Regions from separate parts of the Homo sapiens genome. Here regions 1, 2 and 4 are each linked to region 3. The links are contacts of gene promoters, found by promoter capture Hi-C in blood cells and fetal thymus (Javierre and others, 2016). All regions are on one chromosome and are shown on one strand. Each heading gives the region's core, a stretch centred on a gene start or on the middle of the fragment in contact. The rest is flanking DNA. Distances are from core to core; before and after follow the strand shown.

Region 1 (3,169 bases), core at 2-2,501, 970 kb before region 3:
CTGTATTAATTATCCTAAACAAATGTATCTTTATAGTACAGTATAGTATTAAAATCTTAGAGTATAATACTTCAATAAATTAGCCCATTGGACACTAAAATTTCTGGAAAGTTCATGCTGTTTTCCAGATTTCAAGTTTATGAATCATTTCTATACAGATTAGTGCAAAATGATATTAAACCTCCAGACAGAAAACTGATAATTGGACTAACAGTTTCACTTAGAAACATTCTAATGTGAGTATTTGCTGACTGGGCACTATTTAATGAAACTCTTTCAAAATTTTAATGATTGCACAAAGTATTTTTAGAACTTTATAAAGGTTTTCATTCTATAGTCATCAAAGGTAGCAAAAAGCCACAAGTGCCCTAACACCTTTCCTGCGTTCTACTAGAGTCATATTCTGAATCAAAAGGAAATTTTGTAAAAGCATATACCCCAGTGGATATTAGGCAAGCCAGGACAATACGAGTATAATAGCTACACTGAAAGAGGTATAATCAACTGTATCATTTAGTTATTTAAGAAAGGATTCTAGAAAAGGTTTTTGAAGAAACTAGAAATCTCACTGTGCAGTAGAAATGTGTAAAGTAAGTTACTCTTTGTCCCAATCTAAGGAAATTTAGCTATTGAAATCCCAAAATACTCTTATTATACATTTTTTATTAAATAATAATCTTACAATGAATTCCATGGATAGCAGTACAATATAGCCAAAAAGAAACTCAAGGAGTTCTGCTTCTGTTTAGGAGAAATATAACAGATAATACTTTCATCATAACAGCCAGAAAAGGCCAGATAAACTAAACAATCATATTTTCTAAAACATCAGAAAGCTTTACTTTAGGTAAAAAGTAATGTAAAGAAACTAAATTCCAAAGAGGAACAAGTTCTTCCTAGGTGAGCAGAGATGAGTGGCCATTTTCTTCTTTGGGGTCATCTGTCATGTCTGGACATATGTAGGCAGAGATCAAGTCTAAAATAGAGAGCTCCTACTAGGATAAAAAGAATCTTCTTGAAATGCTCCCTTTTAGAATCCTGAGCTACTATATTGAGAGGTCTGACTACCCTGCTGAGAGACTGTGTAGGGAGAAAGAGATACCAGCCAGCTCCCAGATGTTTCAGCTATCTTATCTGACACACCAGACATGTGAGTGAAGCTACCCTGGATTTCTAGCCCCAGTTGGGCATTCAGATACATGCTACTATATGATTCACCCCAGGAAAGACAAGCGGAAGAACCACTCAGCTGTGCCCAGCCACGATTGCAGAGTAATGAGCAAATAAATGAAGTGGTTTGTTATGCTATAATAGAAAACTGCTAGACCTTTTACTATGGTGTACAGATTAGAGTGTGTGTGTGTGTGTGTGTGTGTGTGTGTGTGTTTCATTTACTTCCTCTCATATGCTAGATCTACATAGCATCAAGAAAAAGTATTATGTAATGTTTGTTATAATCCAAAAAATAAAAACGCTACAAACCACTAGGTTAATTCCATGGGTTTCTTTATCCAGTTACATATACACATCTATGTAAGAAGATACGTTATTATAATATATTGATATTACAACATAATATCACAATTCTCTACTCCATAATTTTTCTTGGTAGATATCTTATGAAGTAAGTTGGTTCATCATGAAATGTTACCAACTGTTAAAATAGAAAGCTTGGGGAAAGCATATCTTAAAAGTAAAATGTTTTTATATGTCGGACCAAGGTGGCTTGTCTGTAAAGACATATTGTTTAGCTTTATTCTTTTTTCTCTATATAAACATTCATTCTCTTACCTTCATCCTTTTCAAAGGATTATTCAACTCTCGCTGGAATGAAGCTGCTCTTCCTGAAAGGAAGGTCTGAAAGGCAACAGCTAACAAATTTTCATACTTTTCAAGTAATGCTTTATCTTCAGGAGGATAAATTCGTCTACAACAAAATCAGATAAACCAATTTTTTAAAAAGAAGCTGTCGTAGCTCAATAGTTAACATCAACTCCATAGACAATCCTTGACCATCTATTCTATACCAGTCACATTGCCAGGTATAAGCATTTCTATACTGATTAGTGCAAAATGATATTAAATATTAAACCTCCAGACAGAAAACTGATAACTGGCCTAATAGATTCACTTAGTAACTTTCTAATGTGAGTATTTGCTGACTGGGCACTAATTAATAAAATTCTTTCAAAACTTTAATGATTGCACAAGAGTATTTTTAGAACTTTATGAAGGTTTTCAGTCTATTCATTAATAGTGGCACAAATCCACAAACAAAGTTTATCTAGAGAATTAGCATTAAACAATGCAGTTCCAGAAGGTACAGTATAAGGGTTTAGTTGGGGGGAAATGGTTGGGGAAGAATGGTGATTGGGCAAATTGGAGAAATACTGAACTTTATAGGAGAGTGTTCAGGTAATAAGGGATACTGCAGGAGTGTTTTTACTTAGTGTGGTTACTGAAGTATACAAAAATGTAAGCAGTGGTTCTGATGATCTCTTTTGTAGTGGTGGAATTTGCCTCTCTAGTAGAGAGAAGTGGGTAGAGGTAGAGTGGGAGGAATGTGTTCTTATCACTACTGTTGATGGTGTTAAGGCCATGAAAGAACATCTTACCATGAGTGCAAGAACGCCCTCACACATTCCTTTATCCTGCTCAGGCAATGTCAAAAGTTGGAAAGTGGGCAATCTGTCCAAGAACACAATGAGCTGGGTGGGGTGGGGGGGTTTGAATCTGTCAAGGGTGATATTGTGGAAGGGTTCCAGTTTAACACAGCCCACATCCCTCTCCACTGTCTCATACCTAACTCCTTCAAACATTTTCATTATTTGCCTAGTTCCTGAAAAAGTACAGTAACCACCATGGATTGGCAGGAAGAATACCAAGAGACCTGAATTCTGACTTTTTTTAAAAGACCACATTATAACTAAATACAGTCACAGGATAACAGCAGGTTAAAAAGACCTCCTACAACCACCCAGAGGCTGGCTAGCAGGAGCGCTGTCAAGGCTGAACCATCTCCCTGCTGACTACCTTTCTTTCTGAAAGACAGTAAGCAAAAAGCACTTGCTTGGAATGAAAGAAAAATGCTTAAAATAAGCACACAAGATTAAAACATGAAGAATCATTGCTTTGATACTTCATTTTTTCAATCTATACAAAAATAGCA
Region 2 (3,193 bases), core at 1-2,500, 940 kb before region 3:
AGGTGCAGCAACAAAGTACCATCTTAAAAGCAGAAACAGCAGCCCTCACCGTCAATAAACCTGCCACCACCTTGATGTGGACTTCCCAGCCTTCAGAAATTTGAGAAATAAATTTCTATTGTTTATAAGTTATCCAATTTGTGGCGTTTTGTTATAGCAGCACACACGGGCTAAGACACTGAGTTAATAAATCGGTTAATTAGCCAGGCACCATGGCTCATGCCTATAAATAATCCCAATACTTTGGGAGGCCTAGGCAGGAGGATCACTTGAGACCAGGAGTTTGAGACCAGCCTGAGCAACATCTCCACAAAAATTTAAAAATTAGCCAGGCATGGTGGTGCCTGCCTGTAGTCCCAGATACCTGGGTGGCTAAGAAGGAATGATAGCTTGAGCTAGGGAGGTCAAGGCTGCAGTGAGCTGTGTTCATGCCACTGCACTACAGCCTGGCAGCAGAGCGTGTCTTAAAAAACAAACAACCAATCAATTCATGAGAGCTGAGAGAAAAGAGAAATAGTCATCAAGCTCTGAGAAGCAAATACATGTAATTTACAATATATTACTTTTCACTTTAAAAAAATTTTATTTATGTATTTTGTTTTATTCATTTATATTGTTTTTTAGAGACAATCATAGCTCACCGTAATCTTGAACTCTTGGGCTCCACAATCCTCCTGCTTCAACCTCCCAAGTAGCTGGGACTACAGGTGTACACCACCACAACAGGCTTTTATTATTATTTTTATTTATTTATTTATGTATTTATTTATTTATTATTTTAGAGATGGGGTCTCACTATGTTGACCAGGCTGGTCTCAAACTCCTAGCCTCAAGTTATCCTTTCGCCTCAGCCTTCCAAAGTGCTGAGATTACAGGCATGAGCTACTGCACCTAGCCCACTTTTTTTTTTTTTTTTTGACACGAAGTTTTGCTCTTACTGCCCAGGCTGGAGTGCAATGGCACAATCTTGGCTCACTGCAACCTCCGCCTCCCGGGTTCAAGTGATTCGCCTGCCTCAGCCTCCCAAGTAGCTGGGATTACAGGCATGCGCCACCACACCTGGCTAATTGTTTTGTATTTTTAGTAGAGACGAGGTTTCTCCATGTTGGTCAGGCTGGTCTCGAACTCCCGACCTCAGGTGATCCGCCTACCTCGGCCTCCCAAAGTGCTGCGATTGCAGGCGTGAGCCACTGTGCCCAGCCCTAACCCACATTTTTAAGTGGAAAAAGCAAAGTACATAGAAGTTTACATATTACACTGCCACTTGAGCAAACCAACAGAGGAATATATGGAACATATCCACTGAGCAGTTGTGGCCTGCTATGGCTAGGGGTGGGGCTAAGGGAGACTTACTTGTACTTACCTTTAGTACTCTGTATATGTATTACCTGTTCAAAAAAGTAAAATATATGTGATAAAATTTTGTATCAATATAATCATGTTGATAACCAAAATCATCAAACTGTGTTCTCCATTTAAGTGAAAATACCTTTATTTCATTTAAATGAAAGTATAATATGGTAGAAAGAGCACTGAACAAGGAGTCAAATCAAATTCCTATCCTTTAATTTTCCACTTAGCAGATATAAATTCTTAGGCTGCAAAAGTAAAAGATTTATTCTTTCCACCCCTAAAGTCTAAAATGGCAACCAATGAAGATAACATTGCTGATATATTTTATGGCAAAAGATGAAGACAAACTTCTTTTATGTAAAAGAAGGAAACACAAAGAAAACTCAGACCTTCTCCAGCAACCCTCAATCCATACCCCAGTAAACATAATATATGAGGTCTTTGTACATTAATTTTTAGCTCACCCAAAGATTACTAAAATAATCAAACAAAAAGTCAAGAGGATCCAAAAATAGGGTTAAGTTAAAAATATGTAAAATAATATTAAATAAAAACATAATAAGAGCTGTTTTGTTGTGACAAGAGGAAGGAGAAAAGAACCAGTACAAACCAGTATCTACTTTCACATAACTTTATTTAGTCCACCCAACAAATACCCAGTACCTTTTATTCCCATTTTATATATGGGAAAATGTAGGCTCCAAGGTTAAGAAACTTGCACAAAGTCACACATCTAATAGGTTGAAGTGGTTTGTGGCTTCTACCTATTAGAAGAAGTATGGGAAGGAAACCCATATTCCTTCCCACTTTTTGTGCTACCTTCAAAATTCAGCCTTTAAATATAACATATTGAAGATTTCGCAAAGATGCTTGATTTTGTTCGACTGAATCTACGTTAAAAGCTGGAGCCCAAGGACATAGTGAGAAGGCAGTCCTCTGAAAGCCAGGAAGATAGCCCTCACCAGGAACCTAATTGTCTTGAGCCTTTTTTATCTTAGACTTCCCAGCCTCCAGAACTGTGAGAAATAAATATCTATTGTTTAAGCTACCTAGTCTATTATACTTTATTATAGCAGCCTGAGCAGACTAAGACATTGAGTCCAGTCTGCCCCTGGCTTCACAGAGTAGATAATTAAACTCTATCCTGAGCTTGCTATGGATTGTAACAATGATAATGAGGAAGAGCAAGAAGACAACAAAGAGGAAGAGAAGGATGGGGTTGATATCATCACTTATGTAAAACATCCTATGTGCCAGGCACTTTTTGAGGTTTATACATATAAAACTCTGACCTTCAAAACCCTAAAAGATAGATTATTATCCTCATTGATAATCGTTTAAAGAAAAGAGATATAATGAACAATGATATTGAAAAACAAGTTATAAGAAAATTTTAAAGTAACAATTTTGCAAATATGTCTCAAGATAATCTTCTCCAGATCCCTAAATTGTAATTATCGGATGAAAGACATTTCTACTATCACTTCCAAAAAAAAGAGAAAAATAACAAATGTAACAAAAAATATATCCAAGTAAGCTTTTACTTTGAGGCAAAAACACTCTCCACACACATTAACATTATTTGCAGAGAGGTCATTACAATTAACAGTCAGAAATCTATTACTTCCTAAAAATTATAAAAATAAGGCAGTTGTATATGCAAAAAGTAGTATTTCCAAATATCAGGTCATGAATGAAATTTTGTCCATTTTTGTATTATTAATTTCATTAAATTTCAGCACTTGGTTCCCAAACCAAATTTGATATATGCTTTCTCTTATATGAAATCATGCTTTTTCTCATATGAAAGAGAATAAAAGTAAATGAAACATGCCACTTT
Region 3 (3,088 bases), core at 355-2,854:
CATGGAAAGCAGGGTTAGCAACTGTTGATGGATCAATGGAAAATCCAGCAACTCTTCTCAGCGATACAAAAGTCCATGCATTAATGAAACGTTGTGCGGTACATGGAATTTGTAAAGAGGAGATTGATTGTCTGTCTGTAATTGACATTTACTTTATTCTCTGATACAGACTAAGTTGGAACCGTGAGAAAGCCCTTTATTTCTAAACGGCATCTCAAGACCAGGTAATGCTACTTTCGGAGGAAAAGGAGGAAGAAAAGCGTTGTAATGACAATAACAAATTACGGGGGAAACATTTCGTGGAAATTACTCAGTTTAAAAAACTGACCTAGCCGGGCGCAGTGGCTCACACCTGTAATCCCAGCACTTTGGGATGCTGAGGAGGGTGGATCACGAGGTCAAGCGTTCGAGATCAGCCTGGCCAACACAGTGGAACCCCGTCTCTACTAAAAATACAAAAAATTAGCCTAGCGTGGTGGTGGGCGCCTGCAATCCCAGCTACTAGGGAGGCTGAGGCAGGAGAATCGCTCGAACCTGGGAGGCGGAGGTTGCAGTGAGCCGAGATCGCGCCACTGCACTCCAGCCCGGATGATAGTGCGAGACTGTGTCTCAAAAATAAATAAATAAATAAATAAATAAATAAATAAATAAATAAATAAAAACTAACCTACAAATGCTTTTCAGGGCCATTTTAATGATTACCTTAATAAGACTAAATTGTTTCCAATATTCACAGTCACTCCTCAAATTACATGCGTGCGGAATTTCTAAGCAATTTTGTGTAGCTGCAACTTGTTGAGGGAAAGCAATAAAGTAACTCTGCTACAGAACAAAAGCACTTTTGTCTCGTGGTGGTGAGGGGGCATACCCTGAACAAACAACCCCGACAGTGTTGCTAGTTACTAGTTCCCGAATCTCTAGAAGCCTGCACATGGTTCAAGCTGTTCCCCAGCGGACACAGCACAGTACCAGATGTAACTGGAGGCTGAAAAATGTTATATCCCTAGGCTTCACGAGAGAACCCCAGTTTCCTAATCACCATCGATGGCAATGAGACTGAGTTTGGAAAGAACCACGTGTGCAAAGGCAGACGCAACCCGTGCGGCGCTCTCCTGGCCTCTGCGCCCAGCCCGCCAGCCCTCAGCAGCGGACGCAACGCCGATTTTGCATCTAGATTGCTTTTTGCTCCTAGCGGGGAAAAAGGTGGGAAAAGAGCAAGTTGTGCCATACACCCGCCGGGAGAGTCTTGTCCCGGGGTTTGGAGTGGGTCTGGAGCCCAGGCTTGCACGCCAGGCAACCCCGAAAAGCCGCAGGCTAGAGCCCTGCAGGCGCCGCTGCGCCCCGGCCTCCCCACGACGCACGCCCTGGTGACTGCGGCTCGGGGTACCCTCCCTGCGCCCGGACCCTCACTCACCGCTCACGTTCACCCGCGCCGCCGAGCCCGGGAGCGGGGGCCCCTGCGGCTGCCGCATGCCCTCGGGGTCGAGCGCGACGGGGCGACCGGGCGCCGGGCTCCAGCCGGGCGCGGAGAAGCAGCGGAGGACGCGGCGGGCGGGCGGAGCGCCTCCTCTCCAGCGACCCCTGCGACGCGTCCAGAGCCAAAGGAAAGTTTGGCGGTGCGAGGGAGGGACCTAGGGACAGCGGCCCCTCCCTGCCCCGCCCCGCCCCGCCGGGTGCGTTCGACGTTCCCACTGGAGAGCGTCCCCAACCTGCAAGGCCGCGAGCTGCGCTCAAAGGGGCCCGTGCGAGCCGCGGGAGGGCAGCGCTCTTGCAGACGCGTTCCTGCCTGGGATCGTCCCCAGGTGGGTGGTCGGCCGGCCCCGAGAGGGAAAAGCGCCCACTAAAGGACCGCTAGTACCCACAAGCCTCACGGAGCCATACCTCGGAGCTCCGTATTAGAACGCAGTCCCTCTGCCCCTCTGTCCTCAGAGATTTGTTTGAAGTGGCTGCGGGAAGTGCAGCCCACACCCACCACCCCCGTGGGAGGCAGGCTCTACTCCAAGCCCGACCTAACGCTGGAAACCTCAACCCCAAAGCTACCCGAGGGTGCGGACAGCCCCCAGAGGCAACCAACAATATTTAAGGTTCTTGTAAGAGGTTTCTTGGCCTCCTGGGGCAAATAGTCCTGGATACTTTGTTTTTCAAAGCTGAAATATAAAACCTCCACTGACCCACCTTTAGTAAAGAAGAAAGATGCAAAGTAAAACAAATGTCATGAAGGCATTGTTCTCTCTGAATTCTGCAAAGCAATAACGAAGTCACAGAAATGTTCAAAGTTGTGCTTTCCTGGTGACCTTACAAAAAGGAAATACTGTGAGGTGAAGTCCTTCCCACTCAGACTTCAGGCCCTTAGGAAGCAATGAGAGTTGTGTGCCCAGATGTCTTCCTGTGACCCTTTGCCATCCATCCATCCGTTCATTCATTCATCTTGCATTCACCATTAATACTGCGCCCTTCTGTGTGCCAGCTAGGAACCTCATCCTTGCAAACAACCTGTTAGATAATCTGTCCCCTACCATCAAAGAGATTCTGTTTTCTCTGCAGAGGATGTTTTAATAAGGTTACGTCCCTTACTCCGTGGGTCTTATCCTATAGACCATAATAGCCTAATGTGCCTCAAACCTCCCCGGGGCTACAGCTAAGTTTTCATCAGCATGTGAAAATTATTGTTTCATCTAAGTGTTCAGAAAATTATTGCGGTGTCTTGCAGTTGAACTGTGTAGAGAGAAGTACAACTTGCGAAGCTAGGGCTAAAGAAAGATCATGTGTTTACTTTTACAAGCAGAAGCTTTGCATATGATAAAAAAGCTCGGTGGCAAACATGGTGAAAACCCGTCTCTACTAAAAATACAAAAAGCCGGGCGTGGTGGCACGCACCTGTAATCCCAGCTACTCTGGAGGCTGAGGCAGGAGAATCGTTTGAACCTGGGAGGCGGAGGTTGCAGTGAGCCGAGATCGCGCCACTGCACTCCAGCCTGGGCGACAGAGCAAGACTCCGTCTCGGAGGGGCGGGGGTCGGAAAGAGCTCTCTCTGTCAAGGGAGAGAACAGCTCAGCTCAAACATCACGGTGCTGAAGGGCAACCTGGT
Region 4 (3,115 bases), core at 358-2,857, 1.0 Mb before region 3:
ATTTTCTTAATTTAGAGGGAATTTTAATAGCATGACAGTACCATATTCTAGCCCATACATGACTAAAAGCAGCACCTTCAGAATGGAGCCGGGGAGTTAGGGATGGGGAATGCTTCTGCTCCATTCCTAATGTTTTCTTCAATATGGAGATGGAAAAATCTGCAGGCATCATGGCACCCCATCAGGCACCTCTACCTAAGAAGCAATTTCCCAGATTGGTGAGACTGACATGGTCTGGGCAAACTAGGCACATTCTCCTTCCTGTCCAGAGCAAACCACTGGGAACACGCATTCCTCTTTGCTTCTCTTTGCTTTCAGTTTTCAAGGAGCCTCCGCAAGAAGGCAAGCTTTGGTCCTCGGAGACCCACCCCTATAATTTGGAGGGCATGGAACAACAGACTGAGGGAACAGGAACCCAAATCCTTCAACTCTCCTCTGAGTCTTCACATAAGCTCCTTCCTCTGCCTGAAACAGTCTTCTCCTATCTCTTCATCTGATAAACTTCTATGTTTCACTTCAAATGCCACTTCTAAGGAAAACTTTACCTGCCACTGAACTATTGTTTGATATCTTAATGCCCAGTTCTTCCTTTATTAGCAAGCACCTTATTTTATTTTAATTTCCTGTTTAATTAATGGAGACTGTTATGCATATAAAGGGAGTAAACTGTGCCCATCTTGATAATAAAGTTACCAGGTCCCCAAGGCTTAAGACAAGGTCTATCATTTAGTAGGTTCCTGTCTTAGTAAGTCATTCCTTGCAAGAAAGTCACACCTATGTAGACAAGGTAAAAAATCATTGAGAGAACTTACCATGTGCCAAGCACTGTTCTAAGCACTTTTACATATATTAACTCATTTAGTCCTCAAAACAAAAACATGAGGTAGATACTATTGGTCCACAGTCCCTTTCCAAAAATCTCAAGCTTAGATTCCATAATCATACATATTATTAATTCTGCAGGAAAAAAATGTAAATATTCAAACCAAGAGATAGACAAAATCAATACATAACTTCTTGTCAGGTCATTGTCACCAAATGAATTCAGGTAGGTTAGGTTTTGCTGCCTAGGGGTTATGAAAATTTTTTTGGTCGTGAAAACATTTTGGATCCCCATTTTATGGATGAGAAAACTCAGGCACAAAGCAGATAAGTAACTTGCCCAAGATTACCCAGCTCATTGTATCCAGACCTACGCTCTTAACTACATCCAGCACTGCCTCACAATTTAGATTTTCCAGATGCCAGCAGCAAAAGCCTAGAGAGAACCCCATTATCTCTTCTTAGATTCAGATTCATTTCTAGTCAAATGGTATTTGGGAGGAGAGTGGGATCACTGTGTAAAAACAAGGTTGCCTAGGCACCCCCTCCTTTATGGCCACGGAGTAAGGAATAGTTTGTTTAGAAGGCTATACAGATGGGGAGACAATGACTGTACTTTTAGCCAAATACTCACTTAATAATTTTAAGAAAGCACAGACCAGGCAGGCAAGAAATCAGACTGGAATGAGATAAATTAGTGCTAGTTCTACCTGTGATGCTTTTTTGGATTTCTGGTCCTTTGGGGATTGAAGAAATTGGATGGAAGATGAATAATTCGTGAAACACAAAAATAAATGATCAGCAAGGTGCCCTTGTGTTATCTGTGGGCTTACGTGAGGCTAATTTATAGAATATAGGTATCCATTTCCTTACATTATGACTTTTAAAAGCATCCCAATCCAACATTAAGCTCTCCAAGGGAAAAAACAAATGGGAGATTCAGTCAATGACAACATTAATAAAATGAAAAGATTTGTCTTTTCCATGTGAAATATAGCACATTTGAAGGCATAAAGCACACAGACAAATTCATATTTTGCAAAAGCATACAGATGTTGAATGACAAACTGCTCCATATGGCCGAACAGTTGGTCCTAAATTAAAATAATGGCACGAGGTGAAGGCGGTTTAGAAATAACATTAAAATCACTACATGCTGTACTAATGATGCATGCAGCAGCGATGGCTATAGGGTAAAGGCATCTTTGCTGATGCAAAACGAACAGCTCTGAACAGCATCTATGTCAGCCTGAATAAAACAGAGACGGAAAATAGTATCATCAAAATGCATGCAGAAGCAGCCACAGTAGGTATTAAAAATAAATTGCTATTTAGAGAAGTAATACTTGATAAACAAGGACCTCTTAGCACCCTAAAATAAATGCAAATACAGTACAACCTTAATGTCATTAGTTATTTCTCTTCATCCTCCACTCTTAGTTTATGTTTAGGTATCACATCAGATAATAAGCTTTTCAGCAAATCTGGCATTCTTTGCAGCCCACCAACATGACTATATTTTCATACTTCATATATATTCCTCACAAACTATATAAAGCAACTGCATTCTTGGCAGAAAGCTAAATTATGCAAGTATGGAGTTACCACAACATGACATTAAATAAGATTAACTATTTCCATTTTCACCTGGTGAGGGTTCTTTTCAGGATTTAATTCCCATACCCTTGATCTTTACATTTTACATCCATTAAGGAAAATTTGAAGGCAAATAATTTTTTTTTAATTTCCAAGAACAGAAAAAAGGAAAGCATGTGAAAGACTCTGTGTGTATGTCATTCTAATCTTGGAGCTTTACAACAGGCTAATAACCACAAATGCCTCAATCCTGGAACAGGAAAAGTGGTATATATATTTCCATAATGGTCTCTAAATGGAATTAAGATACTTAAATAAGAGTCTTGTGCTTCCATACCTTGAATAGTGCCTGGGGCATGGTAGTCCCTCAATAAATATCTGTTGAATGCATGATTAAGTGAGCAAATAAATGAATGAGTAAACAACTCTCAAAATCCCTAACAGTGTCTAGCATATTATTTGTATAAAATTGGCAATCAATAAATGTTTGTTAAATTAAAATGTATCACGCACAGCCTTTGTGGCAGCCATGGAGATGTGCCACTTAAATTAACATGTTTCAAAGAATGCAGTTAGCTGATGGCTTCCCCACTGGGGATCCACTGCAATATTCAAACCATGCTTACACTCTCCCAAGATAGTTCCCAGCCAAGGATGAAGCATGGCTGGGATACGAGTGAAGAGCTATTTCTGCTCA

Evidence for each region. Contacts are between HindIII fragments. The CHiCAGO score rates a contact against its expected background, and 5 or more counts as called.
Region 1: a fragment that was not itself captured here is called in contact with the fragment with the promoter of LPAR3 in region 3 in 5 of 17 cell types (M0 macrophages, erythroblasts, naive CD4 T cells and 2 more); the score reaches 6.8 in M0 macrophages.
Region 2: a contact is called between a fragment that was not itself captured here and the fragment with the promoter of LPAR3 in region 3, in 1 of 17 cell types (non-activated CD4 T cells). The highest score is 6.7, in non-activated CD4 T cells.
Region 4: a contact is called between a fragment that was not itself captured here and the fragment with the promoter of LPAR3 in region 3, in 3 of 17 cell types (naive B cells, total CD4 T cells and monocytes). The highest score is 6.6, in naive B cells.

What each region holds. Positions count from the first base shown.
Region 1 is chr1:83,917,908-83,921,076 of GRCh38, forward strand. TTLL7 (tubulin tyrosine ligase like 7) reads right to left here. Exons shown (of 21, transcript NM_024686.6): 13 at 1,792-1,927. Among named protein-coding and RNA genes, the nearest start is that of LINC01725, 58 kb to the left of the region's middle. The HindIII fragment of the contact is 834 bases long and covers 835-1,668 here.
Region 2 is chr1:83,955,528-83,958,720 of GRCh38, forward strand. All of the region lies in intron 1 of TTLL7 (tubulin tyrosine ligase like 7), which reads right to left. Among named protein-coding and RNA genes, the nearest start is that of TTLL7-IT1, 27 kb to the right of the region's middle. The HindIII fragment of the contact is 3,276 bases long and covers 1-2,888 here.
Region 3 is chr1:84,891,602-84,894,689 of GRCh38, forward strand. It overlaps LPAR3 (lysophosphatidic acid receptor 3), which reads right to left and starts at 1,605. Exons shown (of 3, transcript NM_012152.3): 1 at 1,415-1,605. The HindIII fragment of the contact is 2,976 bases long and covers 1-2,786 here.
Region 4 is chr1:83,894,544-83,897,658 of GRCh38, forward strand. The region is part of intron 18 of TTLL7 (tubulin tyrosine ligase like 7); the gene reads right to left. Among named protein-coding and RNA genes, the nearest start is that of LINC01725, 35 kb to the left of the region's middle. The HindIII fragment of the contact is 1,368 bases long and covers 924-2,291 here.